2 separate regions of the Homo sapiens genome follow, and region 1 is linked to region 2. Evidence: promoter capture Hi-C in 16 types of primary human blood cells and fetal thymus (Javierre and others, 2016). All regions are on one chromosome and are shown on one strand. Each heading gives the region's core, a stretch centred on a gene start or on the middle of the fragment in contact. The rest is flanking DNA. Distances are from core to core; before and after follow the strand shown. Region 1 holds the start of HTRA2 (HtrA serine peptidase 2). Region 2 holds the start of DGUOK (deoxyguanosine kinase).

What was found. The method cuts DNA at HindIII sites, captures the fragments that hold promoters and counts their contacts. A CHiCAGO score of 5 or more calls a contact.
Region 1: a contact is called between a fragment that was not itself captured here and the fragment with the promoter of DGUOK in region 2, in 1 of 17 cell types (total CD4 T cells). The highest score is 5.4, in total CD4 T cells.

The regions. Positions count from the first base shown.
Region 1 is chr2:74,529,691-74,533,815 of GRCh38, forward strand. It overlaps HTRA2 (HtrA serine peptidase 2), which reads left to right and starts at 243. Exons shown (of 8, transcript NM_013247.5): 1 at 243-822; 2 at 927-1,131; 3 at 1,221-1,415; 4 at 1,649-1,681; 5 at 1,907-2,012; 6 at 2,166-2,235; 7 at 2,929-3,024; 8 at 3,130-3,629. The coding sequence starts at 317. The coding sequence ends at 3,295. LOXL3 (lysyl oxidase like 3) reads right to left here. Exons shown (of 14, transcript NM_032603.5): 14 at 2,568-3,989. The coding sequence ends at 3,916. AUP1 (AUP1 lipid droplet regulating VLDL assembly factor) reads right to left here and starts at 16. Exons shown (of 12, transcript NM_181575.5): 1 at 1-16. RefSeq lists enhancers at 1-289, 1-344, 800-929, 950-1,019, 1,050-1,129 and 1 more and a silencer at 320-409. The HindIII fragment of the contact is 295 bases long and covers 2,665-2,959 here.
Region 2 is chr2:73,925,181-73,929,075 of GRCh38, forward strand. DGUOK (deoxyguanosine kinase) reads left to right here and starts at 1,700. Exons shown (of 7, transcript NM_080916.3): 1 at 1,700-1,872. The coding sequence starts at 1,731. RefSeq lists an enhancer at 1,732-2,001. The HindIII fragment of the contact is 7,290 bases long and covers 379-3,895 here.

The sequences.
Region 1 (4,125 bases), core at 1,562-4,061, 610 kb after region 2:
GGGCTCTTGGGAAGGCGGAGTCTTTGGGCATCCGCCCGGGGTGAGGGGACCCGAAGTCCTGAGGCGCGCCGGAAGGGCTAGCGGTCCCAGCATACCCCGCGGCCCCTTGGGCCGTCTCACAACTCGCGTCCGGCGGAGACCACAATTCCCGGCATTCGTGGGGCAGGGAGGAGTCGGCCTCCCGGAATCCTGGTCCCGGCGTGCACTTCTGAAGGACTTCAGGTACCGGCGTGCCCCGCGTCCTACTGTCCGCCTGCTCGCGTCCTGGGTGCCGCCTCTGAGTAGGGCGGGCGAGGAGGCAGCCAAGGCGGAGCTGATGGCTGCGCCGAGGGCGGGGCGGGGTGCAGGCTGGAGCCTTCGGGCATGGCGGGCTTTGGGGGGCATTCGCTGGGGGAGGAGACCCCGTTTGACCCCTGACCTCCGGGCCCTGCTGACGTCAGGAACTTCTGACCCCCGGGCCCGAGTGACTTATGGGACCCCCAGTCTCTGGGCCCGGTTGTCTGTTGGGGTCACTGAACCCCGAGCATGCCTGACGTCTGGGACCCCGGGTCCCCGGGCACAACTGACTGCGGTGACCCCAGATACCAGGACCCGGGAGGCCTCAGAGAACTCTGGAACCCGTTCGCGCGCGTGGCTGGCGGTGGCGCTGGGCGCTGGGGGGGCAGTGCTGTTGTTGTTGTGGGGCGGGGGTCGGGGTCCTCCGGCCGTCCTCGCCGCCGTCCCTAGCCCGCCGCCCGCTTCTCCCCGGAGTCAGTACAACTTCATCGCAGATGTGGTGGAGAAGACAGCACCTGCCGTGGTCTATATCGAGATCCTGGACCGGTAATGGTGGGGGTAGACCGGGAGGCACTGAAGCCACAGGCTGGAGGGCGGGCGGGTAGGAGGGGTCAGAGCCTCCTCTTATCTGTGCTTTCCCTCCATTTCAGGCACCCTTTCTTGGGCCGCGAGGTCCCTATCTCGAACGGCTCAGGATTCGTGGTGGCTGCCGATGGGCTCATTGTCACCAACGCCCATGTGGTGGCTGATCGGCGCAGAGTCCGTGTGAGACTGCTAAGCGGCGACACGTATGAGGCCGTGGTCACAGCTGTGGATCCCGTGGCAGACATCGCAACGCTGAGGATTCAGACTAAGGTGGGGGCTGGGGTAGGCCAGGTCTGGTTGGAGCTGCTTATTTGCTCGCATCTTCAGATGACAGGTCTCTTTTACCCATTCTCCCTTAGGAGCCTCTCCCCACGCTGCCTCTGGGACGCTCAGCTGATGTCCGGCAAGGGGAGTTTGTTGTTGCCATGGGAAGTCCCTTTGCACTGCAGAACACGATCACATCCGGCATTGTTAGCTCTGCTCAGCGTCCAGCCAGAGACCTGGGACTCCCCCAAACCAATGTGGAATACATTCAAACTGATGCAGCTATTGATGTGCGTCCTGATAGGAGAGAAATGACAAATGATGGGGGAGGGGGGAGAGGCTGTGTGGTACAAGCACCAACTGATATATGGTGGATGAGCCTATATAGAGCTTAGGCTGCAAAAATGTGGCCACTTATTCATGGGCTGAGAAAGAAGAGAATTTGGAGAAAGTACCTACATCCTGGTATGCCCCCAGACTTAGAATCCCCAGATCTCTTTCATGTTTTCTCCTTGTCCTACAGTTTGGAAACTCTGGAGGTCCCCTGGTTAACCTGGTGAGTGAGACATCCTTCCTTCCAAGAATCCCTGCCCCAGGTCAGTGTGGGAAGGGTAGGTTTCCCCTAATTCAAGGATGTTTGGTCAAGTTTCTGAGCAGTTCTTTGTTGGCTATCTCTCAATATCCAACCAGATCTCCCCAACACTTGCTGGTACTTTTGTTCGGGTGCCCCCATCCCCTACTATTTGTTTAGGCTAGGGAACTGGGGGCTGTATCCCTGCAGGATGGGGAGGTGATTGGAGTGAACACCATGAAGGTCACAGCTGGAATCTCCTTTGCCATCCCTTCTGATCGTCTTCGAGAGTTTCTGCATCGTGGGGAAAAGAAGAGTGAGCCTGCCTTATGGGGAAACGGGTTCCTTTAATGTGGTGGAAATAGGGGAAGGGCATTCAGTGGGACTTCCTGGAGGGTGGTCTACTGGGAGAAGAGGGCAGGGAAGGAAGGATGTAGCTGGGTGGGGCTCATTTGTCCCTCTGTCACAGATTCCTCCTCCGGAATCAGTGGGTCCCAGCGGCGCTACATTGGGGTGATGATGCTGACCCTGAGTCCCAGGTATGAGCTTTAGGGACAGTGACATGTAATGTGACCAGTGTAATCAGAGGGGGGCACCTCTATTGAGCTTTGTTCTCATTTCTGTCTTTATCTAAGATGAACTGTGTCACACTTGAAATAATCACAAGAGCTGTCTCCCTTCATCATCTTGACTTTCTTATCCCACTCCACTTTGTACACCTGTCACCAGATTGATTTCATCCTGTTACTGCTTTGATTTCAAGCCTTCAATCCATTAACTTGGCATTTAAGGGCCATTTTCCATCTGTCTGTAAATCAACTTTCTAGACCTGGCTGTAATACCTTCCTATATGAATACTCAGCCAACCTGATTTCCTACTCCCATGTTTTTTATTTATGCTGTTCTTGTTTTATATGGTTAATATCAGATCCATCCTTTTAGGCTCAACTTAAGTTCTTTCCCCTTAAAGCTTCTCTTAGTATTCTAGAATGACATTAGTGCTATTGATTTAACACTGTTTGTCATTTGGTGCCCTCATGTGGTGTACATCTTTTATGTACATGTTGCACTTTATTGCTAGAAGACAGAAAGTGAGTTGCCATTGTATTTTGTAGTACCTAGCCCATGTCCTGTCCATATATTTATCAATGTGTTGATGAGAGACTTGAGGTGGAACTCAGGATGGGGAGAATGCCTGGGTTTGGCTAATAGGGTGATCTGTGTACTTTCAGCATCCTTGCTGAACTACAGCTTCGAGAACCAAGCTTTCCCGATGTTCAGCATGGTGTACTCATCCATAAAGTCATCCTGGGCTCCCCTGCACACCGGTGAGGGAGAGGCTGCAGTGTGATATGGGGATGGGCAAGGTGTGCATGTGTCCTTGAACTAGGCTTTGTACTCCTTCCTTTCTCTCTGTCCATTTTTCTCTATAGGGCTGGTCTGCGGCCTGGTGATGTGATTTTGGCCATTGGGGAGCAGATGGTACAAAATGCTGAAGATGTTTATGAAGCTGTTCGAACCCAATCCCAGTTGGCAGTGCAGATCCGGCGGGGACGAGAAACACTGACCTTATATGTGACCCCTGAGGTCACAGAATGAATAGATCACCAAGAGTATGAGGCTCCTGCTCTGATTTCCTCCTTGCCTTTCTGGCTGAGGTTCTGAGGGCACCGAGACAGAGGGTTAAATGAACCAGTGGGGGCAGGTCCCTCCAACCACCAGCACTGACTCCTGGGCTCTGAAGAATCACAGAAACACTTTTTATATAAAATAAAATTATACCTAGCAACATATTATAGTAAAAAATGAGGTGGGAGGGCTGGATCTTTTCCCCCACCAAAAGGCTAGAGGTAAAGCTGTATCCCCCTAAACTTAGGGGAGATACTGGAGCTGACCATCCTGACCTCCTATTAAAGAAAATGAGCTGCTGCCATCTTTTGTGGGCAGTTAGTCAGGTGCTGCTCTTTGTGGTGTGGTGGGCTCTGGTCTGTTCTGCTCGGTGCTGGGCCTGGGAGCAAAGATTCCCATGCTTGGCTACAGATACTGACAGCTGGCCTCTGAAGGAGGGTGAAAACTTCTGCTTGACAGTTCCACATCCATAGTGCATGGTCTGATGAGTGCGGTTGCTGACATGGGTTTCTTGGTAAGCTCCTGAGGTAATGGCAGCCTCAGACCCCTGCCATTAGGGGCCAGTGGTGGTTTGCAGAGGGCAGTGGCACTTAGATAATCTGGTTGCTGGTCTGGCCAGGGTAGCGTTCAAACCTCCTGTTGGCCTCTTCACTGAAGGCATCACCTGCAGAGTGGACAGGCAATTTGGGAGGCGCCCTGCACAGAGGGAGGGAGATAGATGCACTGTGGAGAAGGGTGGGTAGAAGTGGAGGGACTGAGAGCTCTACAGGAAGGTGGGAAGATGGAGAAACAAGCTATGG
Region 2 (3,895 bases), core at 450-2,949:
TTGGTTGCAGGAGGGGACCAATCAGAGGCTGAAGTAAAGTTATGAAGTTATACCCCATGCAACTAAAGACTTGGCCTGCCACCAGCCTGACTGATTGCCCGCGGGGACCAGTCAGAGGTACTTTCAATTTTTTATCTGCCACCCAGAAGAGGGATTAGCTTCTGGTCCTTTTGTTACTTGGGCTAGAAAGTTGGGGTTTTCCTTTTGATTTAGTTCTAGGAAGTCAGCCTAAATCGGCCTTAGGTTCCCTGTCTCCAGACCCTATTTTCCTGCCTCGTAGCTTTTAGGAGATTAATGCCTGCCTGCAGACAACTTCCTCATTTAACTTTCACAACACCCCTGAGGCAGCAAGATCCTGGCGAGGCAGAGAGCCTCTCAAGCTTTTTTGGATGAATATTTTCCAAGTCTGAGTTTACATAGGTAAAGAAATGTAAGCAGTTTTTTTTTTGTTTTTTGTTTTGTTTTGTTTTGTTTTGTTTTGTTTTAACAGAAGTGGCTGCTGGAGTGGAGATGGGAATGGGTAGGACTTTAGCCGCTCCAGTAGCCATTAACGCCCCACCCTGGTTATCCTTAAAAAATTCGATTAAAAAAAAAGTTCTTAATATATAAACATGACCTCAGCCATCCTATATATACATCAACATAAGAAAAAGGTCCCGTGCTTTTTATGGGAACAGCTTCAAGACAGGTATCCCAGCCCCCGGCCCCTCCCCAGCCCCCTTGCAATCAGATCCTTGTCTTCTAAAACCTGCCACACCTAAGAGCGCTGCCTGAAGGCCGGTTTGGCCTGTTGACTCCTGGTTTTGACTGTTGGTGATTTAAGCGATTGGAACTGGAAGCACCATTTGACAACATTTTGTAAATCATTACTTCTGAGGTTGTTATGACGACGGGGTGTGGCAGTCCGGCTTCACCTGTGGCAGCAGCTTAGGTCCCTGCCCTCCTGCAGAGCACACTTCACCGACAGCAGGACTCAGGTTTTATACAAGTCTCTACTCGCCATTGCTTACGTCCAAGAACCCAGCCTACCAGGTTTAAACAATTTCCAGTCACATACCTGAGCCACCACCACCTTATCCTGAAGGGATTTTTGGGTATAATGCAAATCGATTGACCGAACATTTATTTACTTATTCAAGACACAAACTAAGAGATGGGGTGTAACTGATTATCTAATTTGTTAATTTAGTCAATAATATGCCAGCATTGTGCAGGGGAATTACAGGGAATAGGAAAAAGTTAAATTTGTGTAAATCATCAGATTGAGTCATTTTCCTACTTTAAAACTTCCATTTTCTTCCGATATTAAAATAAAAACCAGACAACAAGCACCTGGGGGGGGGGAAATCCCCTCTTAAAATTACAATTTCTATTTTTAATTTTGTCTTCAGTTATAAAATTTATTTTAAAGTTATACAAAAATGAAGTGGTTGGATTGTGGAATTACGTCTTTTAAAATGTTATTTGTCCAATGAACAAAAACCACTCGCACCGCAACTCCTTTTACTATCAAATTCTGCACCGTTGCAAAACTTCCTTCACTCAACGCTTCTTTACAAACATCGCGATAGCGGAGCGGTCTCTTGGGCGCACCCCGCCGCATGTTCAACCCCACCCACTTCCTGTCTGACGATCTCCTTACGTCAACGGTGCGCTGGAGCGAGTGAGCAGCGATACCTAGGGCGGAAGTGCTCTCGGCGGAAGTGATCGCTGTGTGAATCGTGGGTGGGATGGCCGCGGGCCGCCTCTTTCTAAGTCGGCTTCGAGCACCCTTCAGTTCCATGGCCAAGAGCCCACTCGAGGGCGTTTCCTCCTCCAGAGGCCTGCACGCGGGGCGCGGGCCCCGAAGGCTCTCCATCGAAGGCAACATTGGTAAGGGCCGGAAAGCGGCTGCCAAGCCTTGGCCTCCGCCACGCAGGCGACAGAGGCTGGGAAAGGAGCTGGGCCCGGAATGGCCTGCGTCTGATGCGGCCGGCCTCTTTTTCTGGGCTGCGAGGAGAGCCTTTCCCCTCGCAAAGTGCACTGTGTATCTTTGCCTCCTTGTTTTTAGGATATCGGGCCTCAGTACCCGCCCACAGGAACATATTTGTTGGGGCATAAAAGCCACGCAGTTAGTGGATAGGACAAGAATTGTATTAGCTGTTTGTAATAGATCGAAATTGAAGCGACAAGCGGGTGCAGTTTATTTGTTCTCCTAGATAGGGTTGCCATATTTAGCAGAAATTAAAAATAATATCCAGTTAAAATAGAATTTAAGATAACGAATAATTTTTAGTGTGTGTCCAATGCAATATTTGGGACATCCTTACAGCAAAACAACAACGAAATCACTCATTGAAAGTTCAAATTTAACTGTGTCCTGTATTTTATCTGGCAACCCTATTCGAAGAGAGTTCCTAAATTTCAGTCGTTCAAATACCACATTCACAATTTTTGCCCTGTGCCTGTGCTAGTTGCATAATAATTTCTTAAGGCTTTTCTTAGAAGAACCTCACTTTTTAAACTTAAAAACATGTATTAAATTAAAAATTATTTTGTTAAAAGAGTGAGATCCAGTATCTTGAATAAAAAGTAGTCAGAAAGCAAAATGAAGGCAAAGCATTTCGATTTAATATTAATAAATTCTGACTTGATACTTTTATCTACCAAGTCACTGAGCCCCTAAAAGGGGCTTAGCAAGTGTTGAGTACTGAAGACGTAGCAGCAAACTGAGAATTTCTTTTTTTATTCATTCAACAAATCACCTTTTGAGCCACTTCCATATGCCAGCACTGTTCTTGGCCTGGAGAATACAGCTGTGAATAGAACAAATAAAAATCTCTGCTCTCATGGAACTCAAGTAGGGAGAGATGGACAATAAACAACATAAATTAAGCAAGGTGAACAATATGTTAGAGAGTAATAAGTATGATGGAGAAAAATTAGGGATGAAGAATTGAGGGAAGTTTTTATTTTATTTTATTTGAGATGGAGTTTTGCTCTTGTTACCCAGGCTGGAGTGCAATGACACGATCTCGACTCACTGCAACCTCTGCCTCCCTGGTTCAAGCGATTCTCCTGCCTCAGCCTCCCGAATAGCTGGGATTAGGGGCACCCGCCACCACACCCAGTTAATTTTTGTTTTGTTAGTAGAGACAGGGTTTCACCATGTTGGCCAGGCTGGTCTCAAACTCCTAACCTCAGGTGATCCGCCTGCCTCGGCCTCCCAAAGTGCTGGGATTATAGGCGTTAGCCACTGCACCTGGCCGAAGTTGTCATTTTAAATAAAATAAGCAAGGCCTCACTGAGAAGGTGACATCTGAGCAAAAAACTGAAGATGAGGGAGCAAATCACGTGGATACCTGGGAGAAGAATCTTCTAGGCAGAGTGAAGAGCAATTGGAAAGGCCCTGAGGTGGAAAGTGTGTTCGGGGAATAGGAGGGAAATCGTTGTGACTGAAGTCGAGTGAGCAAGGATGGGAGGGAAATTAGGGCAAAAGCCCAAGGGGTGGCCAGATTTTATAGGCCTTATCATGGGTTTTTAATCTTACCGAGATGGGTAGCCATTGGAAGGTTTGAGGAGTCAAGTGACAGTTTTACTTAGATTATAAAAAGATCACTGTGGCTGATAACATTGAAAGTGAAGAGTGTTAAGTGGTATTGCAATAATTATAGTATTGTGAAAAGTGAAAGTGGTGAGACGTGATTGGATTCTAGTTATACGTTAACAAAAATTGAGTTACATTTTAAGTAAAATTTAACAGTGGAAGTGGTGAGAAATGATTGGGTTCTAGTTATATTTTAAGATAGGGCCAATTGGATTTGGTGACAGGTTGAATGCAGAGTGTAAGGTAAAGAGAGGGGCCAATGATGACTCCAATTATTTTGACTTGAGTACTTGAAAGATAGACTCCTGA